Linked DNA regions of Homo sapiens: all the other regions are linked to region 1. The links are contacts of gene promoters, found by promoter capture Hi-C in blood cells and fetal thymus (Javierre and others, 2016). All regions are on one chromosome and are shown on one strand. The core of a region is centred on a gene start or on the middle of the fragment in contact, and the rest is flanking DNA. Distances in the headings are between cores, read along the strand shown. Region 1 holds the start of ATN1 (atrophin 1). Region 2 holds the start of CD27-AS1 (CD27 antisense RNA 1). Region 3 holds the start of MRPL51 (mitochondrial ribosomal protein L51). Region 4 holds the start of VAMP1 (vesicle associated membrane protein 1).

What was found. Contacts are between HindIII fragments. The CHiCAGO score rates a contact against its expected background, and 5 or more counts as called.
Region 2: the fragment with the promoter of CD27-AS1 here is called in contact with a fragment that was not itself captured in region 1 in 2 of 17 cell types (non-activated CD4 T cells and total CD8 T cells); the score reaches 7.0 in non-activated CD4 T cells.
Region 3: a contact is called between the fragment with the promoter of MRPL51 here and a fragment that was not itself captured in region 1, in 1 of 17 cell types (non-activated CD4 T cells). The highest score is 5.3, in non-activated CD4 T cells.
Region 4: a contact is called between the fragment with the promoter of VAMP1 here and a fragment that was not itself captured in region 1, in 1 of 17 cell types (non-activated CD4 T cells). The highest score is 6.0, in non-activated CD4 T cells.

Annotation. Positions count from the first base shown.
Region 1 is chr12:6,925,708-6,928,547 of GRCh38, forward strand. It overlaps ATN1 (atrophin 1), which reads left to right and starts at 2,252. Exons shown (of 10, transcript NM_001940.4): 1 at 2,252-2,677. It overlaps LOC124902868 (a long non-coding RNA gene), which reads right to left and starts at 1,989. Exons shown (of 2, transcript XR_007063194.1): 1 at 1,820-1,989; 2 at 1-418. RefSeq lists an enhancer at 137-836 and silencers at 1,861-1,910, 2,091-2,250. The HindIII fragment of the contact is 151 bases long and covers 1,479-1,629 here.
Region 2 is chr12:6,450,267-6,453,049 of GRCh38, forward strand. CD27-AS1 (CD27 antisense RNA 1) reads right to left here and starts at 1,251. Exons shown (of 6, transcript NR_015382.2): 1 at 75-1,251. It overlaps CD27 (CD27 molecule), which reads left to right. Exons shown (of 6, transcript NM_001242.5): 3 at 1-86; 4 at 275-364; 5 at 629-748; 6 at 1,002-1,447. The coding sequence ends at 1,126. It overlaps TAPBPL (TAP binding protein like), which reads left to right and starts at 1,776. Exons shown (of 7, transcript NM_018009.5): 1 at 1,776-2,046. The coding sequence starts at 1,983. RefSeq lists enhancers at 586-795, 886-1,045, 1,476-2,075. The HindIII fragment of the contact is 9,942 bases long and covers 1-2,783 here.
Region 3 is chr12:6,491,834-6,494,639 of GRCh38, forward strand. MRPL51 (mitochondrial ribosomal protein L51) reads right to left here and starts at 1,429. Exons shown (of 3, transcript NM_016497.4): 1 at 1,225-1,429; 2 at 1,029-1,139; 3 at 53-634. The coding sequence starts at 1,303. The coding sequence ends at 438. It overlaps NCAPD2 (non-SMC condensin I complex subunit D2), which reads left to right and starts at 2,269. Exons shown (of 32, transcript NM_014865.4): 1 at 2,269-2,321. RefSeq lists enhancers at 1,647-1,696, 1,864-2,461 and a silencer at 1,897-2,226. The HindIII fragment of the contact is 4,003 bases long and covers 1,234-2,806 here.
Region 4 is chr12:6,469,279-6,472,101 of GRCh38, forward strand. VAMP1 (vesicle associated membrane protein 1) reads right to left here and starts at 1,399. Exons shown (of 5, transcript NM_014231.5): 1 at 1,252-1,399. The coding sequence starts at 1,253. It also overlaps a transcript of TAPBPL not described here. RefSeq lists silencers at 881-930, 1,431-1,480, 1,691-1,950. The HindIII fragment of the contact is 5,218 bases long and covers 1-1,969 here.

The sequences.
Region 1 (2,840 bases), core at 304-2,803:
ATTCCCAGAACTTTGTTGAATCTGGCCCAAGGAATTGTGAGACAAAAATCTACTGAGCTGCTCCAGAGCTAACCTCCTTCCTTCCCTGAAGGCAGGTGGGATCTTGCCAATTCAGGGCCCACCCTTAGCCTCCAGCAAGACTGGCCCCACAAGTACCCGACCCCCACCCCAAATCTGGAGCTCTACTGAGGGCTCCTAATCCACACTCCAGCTCCAGCTCTTCCGGCTTGCCAGCCTGCCTCCCTCCCATTCTCTGGCCTTCCCAATTTCTGCTGCCAAAAATCACCCTGTGTCCTTTGTCCTGGGAGATGTTGCCGCTTGGTGGAGGGCCAGGAGGGAGCCCAGGAGAAGGAACTGGTGGTGGGCTGGCGGAGGTGCTGGCTTCACGGCCGGGAGCAGACTGACTGCCAGAGGCTACCTGGAGAGCAGGGGAGGGAGAGGAAGGGTTGGGAGGAGCCTGCAGTCTGTGGTGGGGACTGTCTCCACCTTAGAACAAGTGGGATTGAGCAACAAGGATACCCAGGGATTTGGGTCCACATTAAGCCCAGTCTTCACCCGACTGCTTCCCTGTGACCCAGGGGATCTTTAGTGATGACTTTCAACAGATTTGAGAAGGAAAATGGAGATGCCACTAGATGGAAGGCCTGAGGATGGTGTCTCACTCCTCCAAGCTGTATCCCTTACCTATCTACCCATGAGCTTGCCAGCAACCTCCCCCCGCTCCCACATCTGTCATTTCCTTTAACTGCCCTCGTTTCCCATCTCCATTTTTTCTTTTTTTTTTTGAGACGGCGTCTCGCTCTGTCTCCCAGGCTGGAGTGCAGTGGCGCGATCTCTGCTTGCTGAAACCTTTGCCTCCCAGGTTCAAGGATTCTCCTGCCTCAGCCTCTGAGTAGCTGGGATTACAGGCATGCGCCACCACACCCGGCTAATTTTTGTATTTTTAGTAGAGACGGGGTTTCGCCATGTTGGCCAGGCTGGTCTTGAACTCCTGACAAGTGACCCACCCGACTCAGCCTCCGAAAGTGCTGAGATTACAGGCGTGAGCCCCCGCACCGGCCCCATCTCCATTTTCTTTTCCCATCCATGATCTTTCCTCTTCCATACTGCCGCCAGCCATAGGCCTTGTTCAGCTTACATTTCCTTCCAATCTTCTTATCCCCCTCTTCCCCATTCTGCCCGCCCAAGTAAACCCTCCTCGGCTCTACTGGGAGCCCCCACCCCCAGGATCCAGCCAGCCCGGTGTCTCCCACCCTTCTTTCCCATCCAGAGCCCTCCTTTCTCACCCAGAACCTATTTTCCCTAGAATTGGCACCTGGGCCCACCTCGTTCATCCCTTCTTAAGGTTCCTCACGCGTTCCCTCCTCTCTCTCCTCACTGACGTTTCCTCTGGACTTCTCTCTCTCCAGCATTCCTTCATCCCCCCACCCCCAATTCTTATATTTATGACTCTTTTGTCAACACTAATCACCCCCAAAAGCTTTACTTTTTCCAGAAGCCCCATCTTTCTATATATGTCATCTTTTCAATTTTTCTCTCTCCTTATGACCCCAAACTTCCATCCCATTCTCTCTGATAATAGCCCCCAAACCCGTCTGGCTCCATCTCTGCCACAGATCCCTCACCCCAAGCTTCTCTCACTTCTCACCAGGCACCCACAAAGCCCCCAGGCAGCTCCATCTTTCCAATCCAATCCCATTATCCCAATCTCTACCCCAGGATCCCCCAAACTCCTCCCACTTCACCTCTGCCACAGACCCGCTCGCCCCCAAACTTCAGCCTCCCCTCATCTGCCCTCACCACCCACAGCCCCTCCTACCTAGCCCTCTCCCGCGCCGGGCCCGCGGGCTCCCCACATTCCGCCACGGCTAGCCCTCCCCGCGCCCCGGCCCCCTCGGCCTCGGCCTCGGCCAACTCGCGCTGCGCCTCCCCCTCTCCGGCTCCCCCTCTCTCCCCCCTCGCGGCTTGCCTCGCGCTCCCTCCCTCGCGTCTCCCTCCTGGCCCCTCTCTCCTCCGTTCCTCCGCGCTCCCTCCTTCTCCCTCTTCCTCCCTTCTCCCATCCCCCTCTCCCAGGCTCCCTCCCTTCGCCGTCCGCTTTCCTGTGCGAGTCGCCGGACGCACCGCCCAGCCCGTCCGCAGCCCCGCGCCGGGTCGGGGCCTCGGGCCGGGCCATTTCGGAGGGACCGCGGCTTCGGGGAGGGGCTAGGAGGGGGGAGAGGGAGCCGACTGCCGGGGAAGGGGCGGGGGCCGCGGGCGAGGCGGCCGAGGGGCCCGGGATCGCGCGGGTGCGGGCTGCGCTAGGCGGGCGCGGGCGGCGGCGGGTCGGAACCGCGCCGAGGGCCGGGCGGGCCGCGGGGCCGGGCGGCGCGGCGGGGGCGGGCGGCGCGGCCCGGGGCATTCCGGGCGGCCAGGGGGAGGCGGCGAGCCCGGGGAGGTGGGGAGCAGAGCGGGGATCGGGGTTTGCTCCGGGGGCCGGCGGGCGATTGGGGCCAGGCGGGGAAAAGGGGGGATGGGGGCCGCCCTCCGGGGGGGTCGGGGCCGCCGCCGCCGTCGTCGCGGCGGCGACTGAGGCCGAGAAGAGGAGAGGGGGGCGGGGGAGCTGCCGCCGCCGCCCCCCAGAGGCGCCGGAGCCCGGAATCCCGCTCGGAGCCAGCCAGCCGTCCCGAGCTACCAGCAGGTAAGGTCTGCGGCCGCCTGGGCCCCGGGCCCGCGGGGTTCTGTCCCGCCCGGGCTCCGGCCTGCGGCTCCCCACCCCCACCCCTCCCAGTTCCCCCTCCTGCCGCCGCCGCCTCCATTTGTTATTTTCCCAATCCCGTCCCCCCACTGCGGGCTCTGCCTGG
Region 2 (2,783 bases), core at 1-2,500, 480 kb before region 1:
TCCTCTTCCAAACCCTTCGCTGACCGCTCGGTCGTCTCAGGCCCTGAGCCCACACCCTCAGCCCACCCACTTACCTTATGTCAGTGGTAAGTTCCAGGCAACTCTCTGTGCCATCACGTGGGGTAGCGGTGATACCCCAACCAGTACTCCCCACTCCTACCCCTAGATAAGGTCAGCCTGTTTCTGCCTTCCCATCCCATCCAGCACCTCTCAGGCCTTCAGATGTGCCCTATGGGGTCCCCTGCTGCTACTCATTCTGTCTCTGTTTTTCCAGAGATGCTGGAGGCCAGGACAGCTGGGCACATGCAGACTCTGGCTGACTTCAGGCAGCTGCCTGCCCGGACTCTCTCTACCCACTGGCCACGTGAGTTTTCTCCTTAATCCCCACCGCTAGAGAGAATGCATACACGAGGGGCCAGGAGGGAAGCCAGACAGAAAGCTCCTAGGATTAGGGATAAGAGGAGGGGAAAAAGCAGAGTCCACTGTTTAGGAGAGGAGTTGGCCAACGGTGGCGGGTGGGATAGAATAAGGTGGGGGAAAGGGGAGAGGCAAGGTGACAGGAGGGCTGGGCTGAGGGAGCCAAGGGCTAGACCCTCCCCTAACCCCTGTGTGTCCCCTCCTATTACAGCCCAAAGATCCCTGTGCAGCTCCGATTTTATTCGCATCCTTGTGATCTTCTCTGGAATGTTCCTTGTTTTCACCCTGGCCGGGGCCCTGTTCCTCCATCAACGAAGGAAATATAGATCAAGTAAGAGACAGAACACAGGCCTCCGGTCCTGCCCCTGCACCACACCCCACTGGCTCAACCCCACTGCCCACGCCTGGAATCTCACTGAAACCCACCAGCTCCACTTCACCAGCCTTGGTCCTACCCCTTCTCTCCCCTTAGCTGGCGTGCTCCTGACACCCCTCCCCCAAGCGCACCCGCCTCTACCCATCTCCTTCTCCCGTCTCCCCCTGCCCCCACTGCTGGCCAAGACTCATCGGATCTCCTTCTGCAGACAAAGGAGAAAGTCCTGTGGAGCCTGCAGAGCCTTGTCATTACAGCTGCCCCAGGGAGGAGGAGGGCAGCACCATCCCCATCCAGGAGGATTACCGAAAACCGGAGCCTGCCTGCTCCCCCTGAGCCAGCACCTGCGGGAGCTGCACTACAGCCCTGGCCTCCACCCCCACCCCGCCGACCATCCAAGGGAGAGTGAGACCTGGCAGCCACAACTGCAGTCCCATCCTCTTGTCAGGGCCCTTTCCTGTGTACACGTGACAGAGTGCCTTTTCGAGACTGGCAGGGACGAGGACAAATATGGATGAGGTGGAGAGTGGGAAGCAGGAGCCCAGCCAGCTGCGCCTGCGCTGCAGGAGGGCGGGGGCTCTGGTTGTAAAACACACTTCCTGCTGCGAAAGACCCACATGCTACAAGACGGGCAAAATAAAGTGACAGATGACCACCCTGCAGCTCTCCAGCTTCCTCTCTGAAATCCCAGTCCCAAAATCCAGTTTCCTGGCCGCCTCCTGGCTCAGGTCAGGATCTGGCAGAGGAGGTTTCTCAGCCGGTTATGTTGGGGCCTGCTTAAGGGCGGGGGTGAGAAAGGTCCCCAGGCTACTGTGGATCCTGTGTCTGACTTCAGATCCCCTTTTCCCACAGTTATAGCTCCACTTTTTTGGGACAGGTGGGGAGCAAAAGGGTGCAGAGGTCAGGTCTTGAAATCACCAGGGGATTTCCGGGTGAGGTGGGTGGTGAGAAAGGAAACAGCAAGCAGGGCTCTGGCAGCTGCTGCAGACGGCTTCACACAGGGACGCGGGCTGCCATCTTGCTCTAAGTGAAAGTGAAAGAAAAGTCGGCAGCAGAGGGAACAGGGAAGAAACCTAAAGGCTGCAGGCTGCCAGGTGTGCTTGGAGAGCCCCCTTCTTCCGCCGGGCCTCGCAAGCAGCGTAGGACTGTGGAGAAGGGCGGTGGGCAAGGAGGGAACTCGAGAGCAGCCTCCATGGGCACACAGGAGGGCTGGTGCCTGCTGCTCTGCCTGGCTCTATCTGGAGCAGCAGAAACCAGTGAGTCTGGGAGTCGGGGAGAGCTGGCTGGGAGAAGAGCTACTGAAGCCCCAGGGTGCCACCCTCCCCGAGATTCCAGAAGAGCAAAGGGGCCGGGGATGACCCCATCGCCTTCTAAGCCCAACAGGGGAAAGGCTCAGCGGCTGGCAAAGGAAGGAACCAATAGTGTGTGTGGAGGGAGGGTGGGGACTCCACAGGGAAAATGCTAAAGAGGGGCTGCCTCTGTGGCTGTGGTCAGGAGCCACTGTCCTACAGAGAGGGCACTGGCCTGGGAGCTGACACTTCAGAAGAGGAAAGGACTCCCCAGGTGAGGAAATCACTTGGAAGGTGACCTTGAAGGCGGGGGAGGGGAAGGCTACCCGAAATGGGAGAAAGCAGTGCAGGCTGTCAGTGCCCCAGCAACAGTAACTGTCCAGTCTCCTCTCTCTGCGGTGGCACTTGCTTGTTTTCTGAGAATTCCTTTGACTGAAAAGATAGTCTTTTATTCAACAGTTGGAAATGCAAGCATAAACTCCTCTGAGCAAGGCAAATCCAGGACTTTAACTCTCACCAAGAAGTATTTGCCTGGACTAGCAGGTGCTCTCCAGAAAGCTGGTTTGGGGATGACGGGAGAATAGAGGGACACAGAAACAGCTAGGATCTTGGATGGCAACTTTTACCCTTTGATGACTCCACAGCTTGAGGGCGGGGGCAGGAAGCAAGTGTGGAGTAGCTTTCTGGGGAAGGCGGTGCTCACC
Region 3 (2,806 bases), core at 179-2,678, 430 kb before region 1:
TTCCTACTCAGAGAATATGCCTAATAAATATTTTATGAGAGTAGTACAGAAGTATGACTCCATTTTTCTCTTATATTTCATTTCAGTGTGGAAGGCTCTTTAGAAACACTATTAACATAACAGCATTATGTCAAAAAGCGCCAATAACATTCTCACCAACTTTTCTTTTTAAAGGAATTAGGTATAGCTAGACTGTAAAAGGCAAGTGGTGTGAAGCCCAAACCTAAGATCCTAAGATCTAGGATGAGTCAAGACTTCATAGTCTACATGAGTAGAGGCAGCATCTAGAGGAAAACAAAAGTATGTGGCTATCAAATTCCAAAGAAGCCCCATTTTATTACAGAGAAAATACAAAGCCGTTTCCTCACAGGGAAAAGTACAGTTTCCCTTCTCCAGGGTGACAGATGAGCCTTTTCCGAAGTTCTCAGCTTTCTCTTCTATCGAAACTTCCCATGTCGGTTAAAGTGTTTGTAGAGATAGCGGATGCGTTTATTAAGGTTGTGCAGGTCATCAGCGAACATTCTACTTCCAACCATTTTCCTCTTTCGGATACAACGTTGCAATTCATTCCCTTTCCAACCTCGAAGCCATATGGGCCCCCTGATCAGTTCTTTGGGGTGCTTTTCAAAGTTTCCTGTGTAATGTGAGAGAACACATTAGATCCAAGACAAGAGAACTCATCCTACACCAGCTAAGCTTTCAACCCACGGTTGCATCTTGCTGAGCAGCACCTATAGACAAGGAACATTACAGTACAGAACAATAGCACAGACTCTGGAGCCAGACTGCTTGGGGTTAAAATTCTGATGCTGCCATTTATTAACTTTGGAAAAACTGTTTATTTTTACTTATGAAGTAAAAATTATACGAGGGGACTCAGAACAGTGCCAAACACAATGTAAACAGCTACATAAGTGTTTGCTCTTACTATTGAGCACAGTACCACTCTCTACACAGGAGGAAAAGATAGTCGTTACAGCCTAATTGCCATTCTGAAATTGTGTACCACGTCGAAGGTCAAGTCTTACCCAGGATCCCGATGTTGTCATACACTCCGAACATGGCCCTTTTCTCGTTCCAACGATCAACCACTTTGGGGGGCGGGAGAGTGAGCCTTATACCGATCAATCTAGGCACACCTGGGGATGGGGAAGGGAGGGAATTAATCTGAGCCGCCTATTATACTACGAAGCAGTTATCGGGGTGCCTACATCAGCCACTTACCAAGAGAGAAGCTTCTGCACGCCAGAGGCACCCAGTCCCACAGGCGCCTACCTGCCCCGGATAAGAGGTTCCCTGCCATTTCTCTAGTCTCCCCCCTTCAACAGCACACCAAATAAGCCCAAGAAGATGACAGGAACCGTCCCCGCCAACTTCACACGAGTACTAAGGCGAAGACAGCCATCTTGGGCCTTACCCAGGCAGCTGTGGGCGCACCGCCCACCTACGCCCCATCCGCAACAGCCACGAGCCCCGCCCCCCGGGTTCCGGCAGGAGGGGCCTCTACCACCCTTCCCGCCTCAGTGCTTCCGGTCCGCCTGCCGGAAGTTTTGGAGCGCCGGACAAGCTGAGGTCCGCGACTCGTCGCTAAGATTCCCCAAAACTGAGATTTCAAGAAAATTCACCCTTTCCGCTTTCTTTGGCGTCCTTCAACCGTGAAGGAAATGAAGGTTGAGAACCTGGAACCCGCTTCCAATGACCAAGCCCTTTCTCTGTGCCTCACAACAGTCTTCCGCTGTAGCTGTTTTTATTACCCCTATTTTACTACTGGGGAGGAGATTTGAGGTCCTGAAAGTGAAGTGACTTGCTGGACGTCACTTAGCAGAGGAGATGGCGAAACCTGGATTAGAGGCGATGCCTTCTAACTCCCAGCGTGGACTTGCCTCCTTTCCTGGGGGTGACTGAATGCCCAGCCAGGGACGCGACGTCTCTGGCCAGCAGAAATACGGCCTCCTCCCCGCCGACTGGGCAAAGGGGGACCTTGCGGCCAAGGAGGGATTCGCAGGCGGGCCGGGGGTGGGAGCGGGGGCCGGAGCCGGAGCCTTGGCCCGCCCCCGGGCGGCGCTGTGATTGGCCGGCCGCTCCGGCGGGCGTCGCGATTGGCCGTCCTGCAGCCGTTGAGATTTGAACTCGGTATTTGTGGCTTTGCCCGCGCGTTGCCAGACTCAGAGGCGGCCCTTTGCCTCTGCCTGCCGGGGATTGGCCGGATTCTCCGCCGACTTGAAAACTGCCTTGCTAATTGGTGCGTGTTGTGCACGCGTGTTTTTTCCTTTTCATTTCAGCCTGACTGCCGGAATCAGAGCCGCGGGTGAGATCCCCAGGTAAGATGTGGTGTTGCAGGTCGTAAAAGAGTAGGAAAGTCGAGTACATGGCAGTGTGACCCAGTCTTGGGCAAAATACAATAGGCCTAGTAAGTATATCCCTGGGGCGCGATGTGTGAGAAACTGTAAGTCTGACAGATCCGCAACGGAAGTTGTTAAGCAAATCGCTTAACAGATCCGCAACGGAAGATGTTAAGCAAATCGCTTAACAGATCCGCAACGGAAGATGTTAAGCAAATCGCTTAACTTTCTTACTTCAATTTCCGCTCTGTAAACTCATTTGTATTATTATGCACCTCATGGGATTGAGGTTAGGATACTTAGATCAGATATGATACATGCAAACAGCCTAACAGACTTGGCACAGGATAAATAAATCATCATTGTTAATGCTCTTACCATTCTGGTGCAGGAAGCCCACTAGCCCATGCTGGGGCACTGTTTTGGCCTCAGACGAGATCAGACCATTCTCTCTATACTTAAGG
Region 4 (2,823 bases), core at 149-2,648, 460 kb before region 1:
GTGTTGGAAGCAGTCCAGGATGGTAGCACCAATGACAAGATTAAGGTCAGAGACCTCGTGATGCCCCGCTAGCCACCACGATTTTTCTGTTGCCTTCTGTTCATCCCACGTAGATACTATCTGGAAGCCCCCTCCCCAAAATGAAAACAACTGGAATTCTACGGCTTGCCCAAAATGCATAGAACACTCATATCTGGTTAAAACCATAGAAATCAAAAAGAAAAAGTGAAATGGCTATGAAGTATTTGCAAGGCCAATTTCACTTACTACTTGTTGGGAGTTGGAAACACTCAACAGTAAAATATCTAGGGATAATTACAACCCTTATGTAACACAAGTAAATCTTTCCCTTTTTTGTCACTTAGAGAAGCAACATAAATACATCTAGGACCAGGCCAGGGTAGTAATCAGAAAGAAAAATCTGTATTAGACATATTGAGGTCTTGACAGAGAAGTACTTCGTTTGTTTAGCCGTAGTTTTCCCTCAAGATCATGCGAAGGGGGTGATGTTGAAGACTGCTGGAGACTAAACTGTGTGTGTTGGAGGAAAGGGGGAAAGCTCAGCTCTCCCTATTTCTCCTCCAACTATTTGGTAAGACTCGGTGATAGAAAAACATCTCCTATACGAATGGCCTTGGTATGAACAGCCGCTTGGGATGACAGGCCACTATCCCACTACCCCTTGAGTCTTTCTGAGCTGCTCACCTGGTGCCAGAGAACTGGCAGATAAGTTTCTGCAGCTTTGCTCACTGCCATGAGGGGGGCTAGACATCACACTTTGGGTGAGGGGTAAACAAATCCAGAGATTGTAGGGCAACATAAGTTACCAACTGGCAGTTGCACCCATGACTGTCTTTCCTGAGGCGCTGAGTAGTGATTTAGCCAGATGACAGAAATACCTTTCGAGTCCCCTGCCCAGTTGTCTCCATCCACCACCCCCAGCCCCCGCCCTCTCCGAGTCTCCACTATACCAAAACCAGAATGAGGCGCCACTCAGACGAGAGGAGAGGGTGCAATGATTGTGGGACCCCTGCGCCCCTGCCCCGCCCGTGGGGTGCTAGCTGTGGCTGGTGCGAGAATGGGGTGCTGGCCCCCCTCCCTGGGGGTGGCCCGGTCCGGAAGCGGCGCGCGGTGGTAGTTCCCCGCGTTGCTGCAGCTGCTGCATTGCGCCATTTTCCGTCCCGCAGAATCGGGAGCTTGGGGCGAGAGTTGTCAAGGAGGTGCCGAGCCCCCACACCAGAGTCAACTCACATTTTTCTGACAGAGAGAGTGAGGGTCTGTTCCTCTCCGGAGGCTGCGGCGAGACACCCGGTGAGGGACGCTGCGGCTGAAGTGGACGGAACTGCCAAGCTCCGCCTCGCGCCGACTACCCCGCGGTCTAGCTGCGCTGGAACTTACTGCAGCTGCCGCGCCGGCCTCCGCCTTTATTAGTGCTGACCACGCCTCCCGGATAACGGTGACAACCCCGCGGCCCAATCCATGCCCAGGACGGTCGCCCAGCGCTACAGGCCTAGCCCGCCCCGCCCCTGCCAATTGCCAGTCACAACTCTCCTCTCATCCGACTCCGGAAAGGAGCGGTTGCTGTGAGGATCCTTCAGTGATCAATGCGACCATAGTTTGCGCTCCAGTCTGGCGGAGGGACGGGGCGGGGTGGAGATGAGGTCTGTCCCTTCGGAGGGCGCTTCAGCAGTTTGTTAGGCATTTGTGGTGCCTCCCAACCAATCGCTAGGCAGTTACTGAAGACCGTGCCCGCCCCTGCCCCACCCCGCGCCGGGACTCGCGCATTCAGCTGGAGGCGGCGGCTTCCTGGTGCGCGCCCAGCCCTGGTGCCCTGCTCTGGCCCTCGCTCCGCACCACCGCCCCGCCTCTAACTAACGCTCTGAGAGGGTGCAGGAGCCTCGAGACACAGCCACAAGCTCCTGGTGCCAGATACCGGATGCGGGGTTCCGTCCCACCAAAGCAAGCACGAAGCTTTCGTTCATTCGTTTCTTTCAACATAGCCTTCCTAAATTGAACTCCCTCCCAAACCTGCTCCAGTCGAGGTTACCACATCGACTCAGTTGCCCAGACCAGAAACGTGGAAACCATCCTAGATTTCCTCCCCTTCACCTTTACCTCTCCCCCAGTAATCTGCCAAATCGAGTTGATTTTTCCTTCTTGGCATTCCAGTGATTATCTCCCCTCTGCTCACTATTATCCCTTTCCTGGACTCCATCAGTTGGAAAATTCACCATTATTTTATGTCCCGCTAAGAAAAAAGGTTACAAGGCCGGGCGCAGTGGCTCACACCTGTAATCCCAGCACTTTGGGAGGCCGAGTCAGGCAGATTACCTGAGATCAGGAGTTCGAGACCAGCCTGGCCAACATGGCGAAACCTCTGTCTCTACTAAAAATACAAAACAGCCAGGCATGGTGGCGGGCGCCTGTAATCCCAGCTACTCGTGAGGCTGAGATAAGAGAATCGCTTGAAGCCGGGAGCCGACGGTTGCAGTGAGCCGAGATCACGCCACTGCACTCCAGCCTGGGCAACAGAGCAAGACCCTGTTTCAAAAAAAAAAAGAAAAAAGGTTGCAAATTATCTGTGACAAATGCTTTCCTTACCACTTAGCATTTTTGTTTTACATGTATTGAAAATATGGGTTTATATACATACCGATTTCTATATTTCACTCTTGTGCATGCATAAAAAGGGAAATAGAAAACAATAACATGGTAACTATCCCTAAAACTTCACAGAGACTGATTGTTAATGATTCACTTTTTTGACTCAGTCTTGGATGTCCACTAATTTCCACGCAATGTAGTCCTCTGTGCATTTCATAA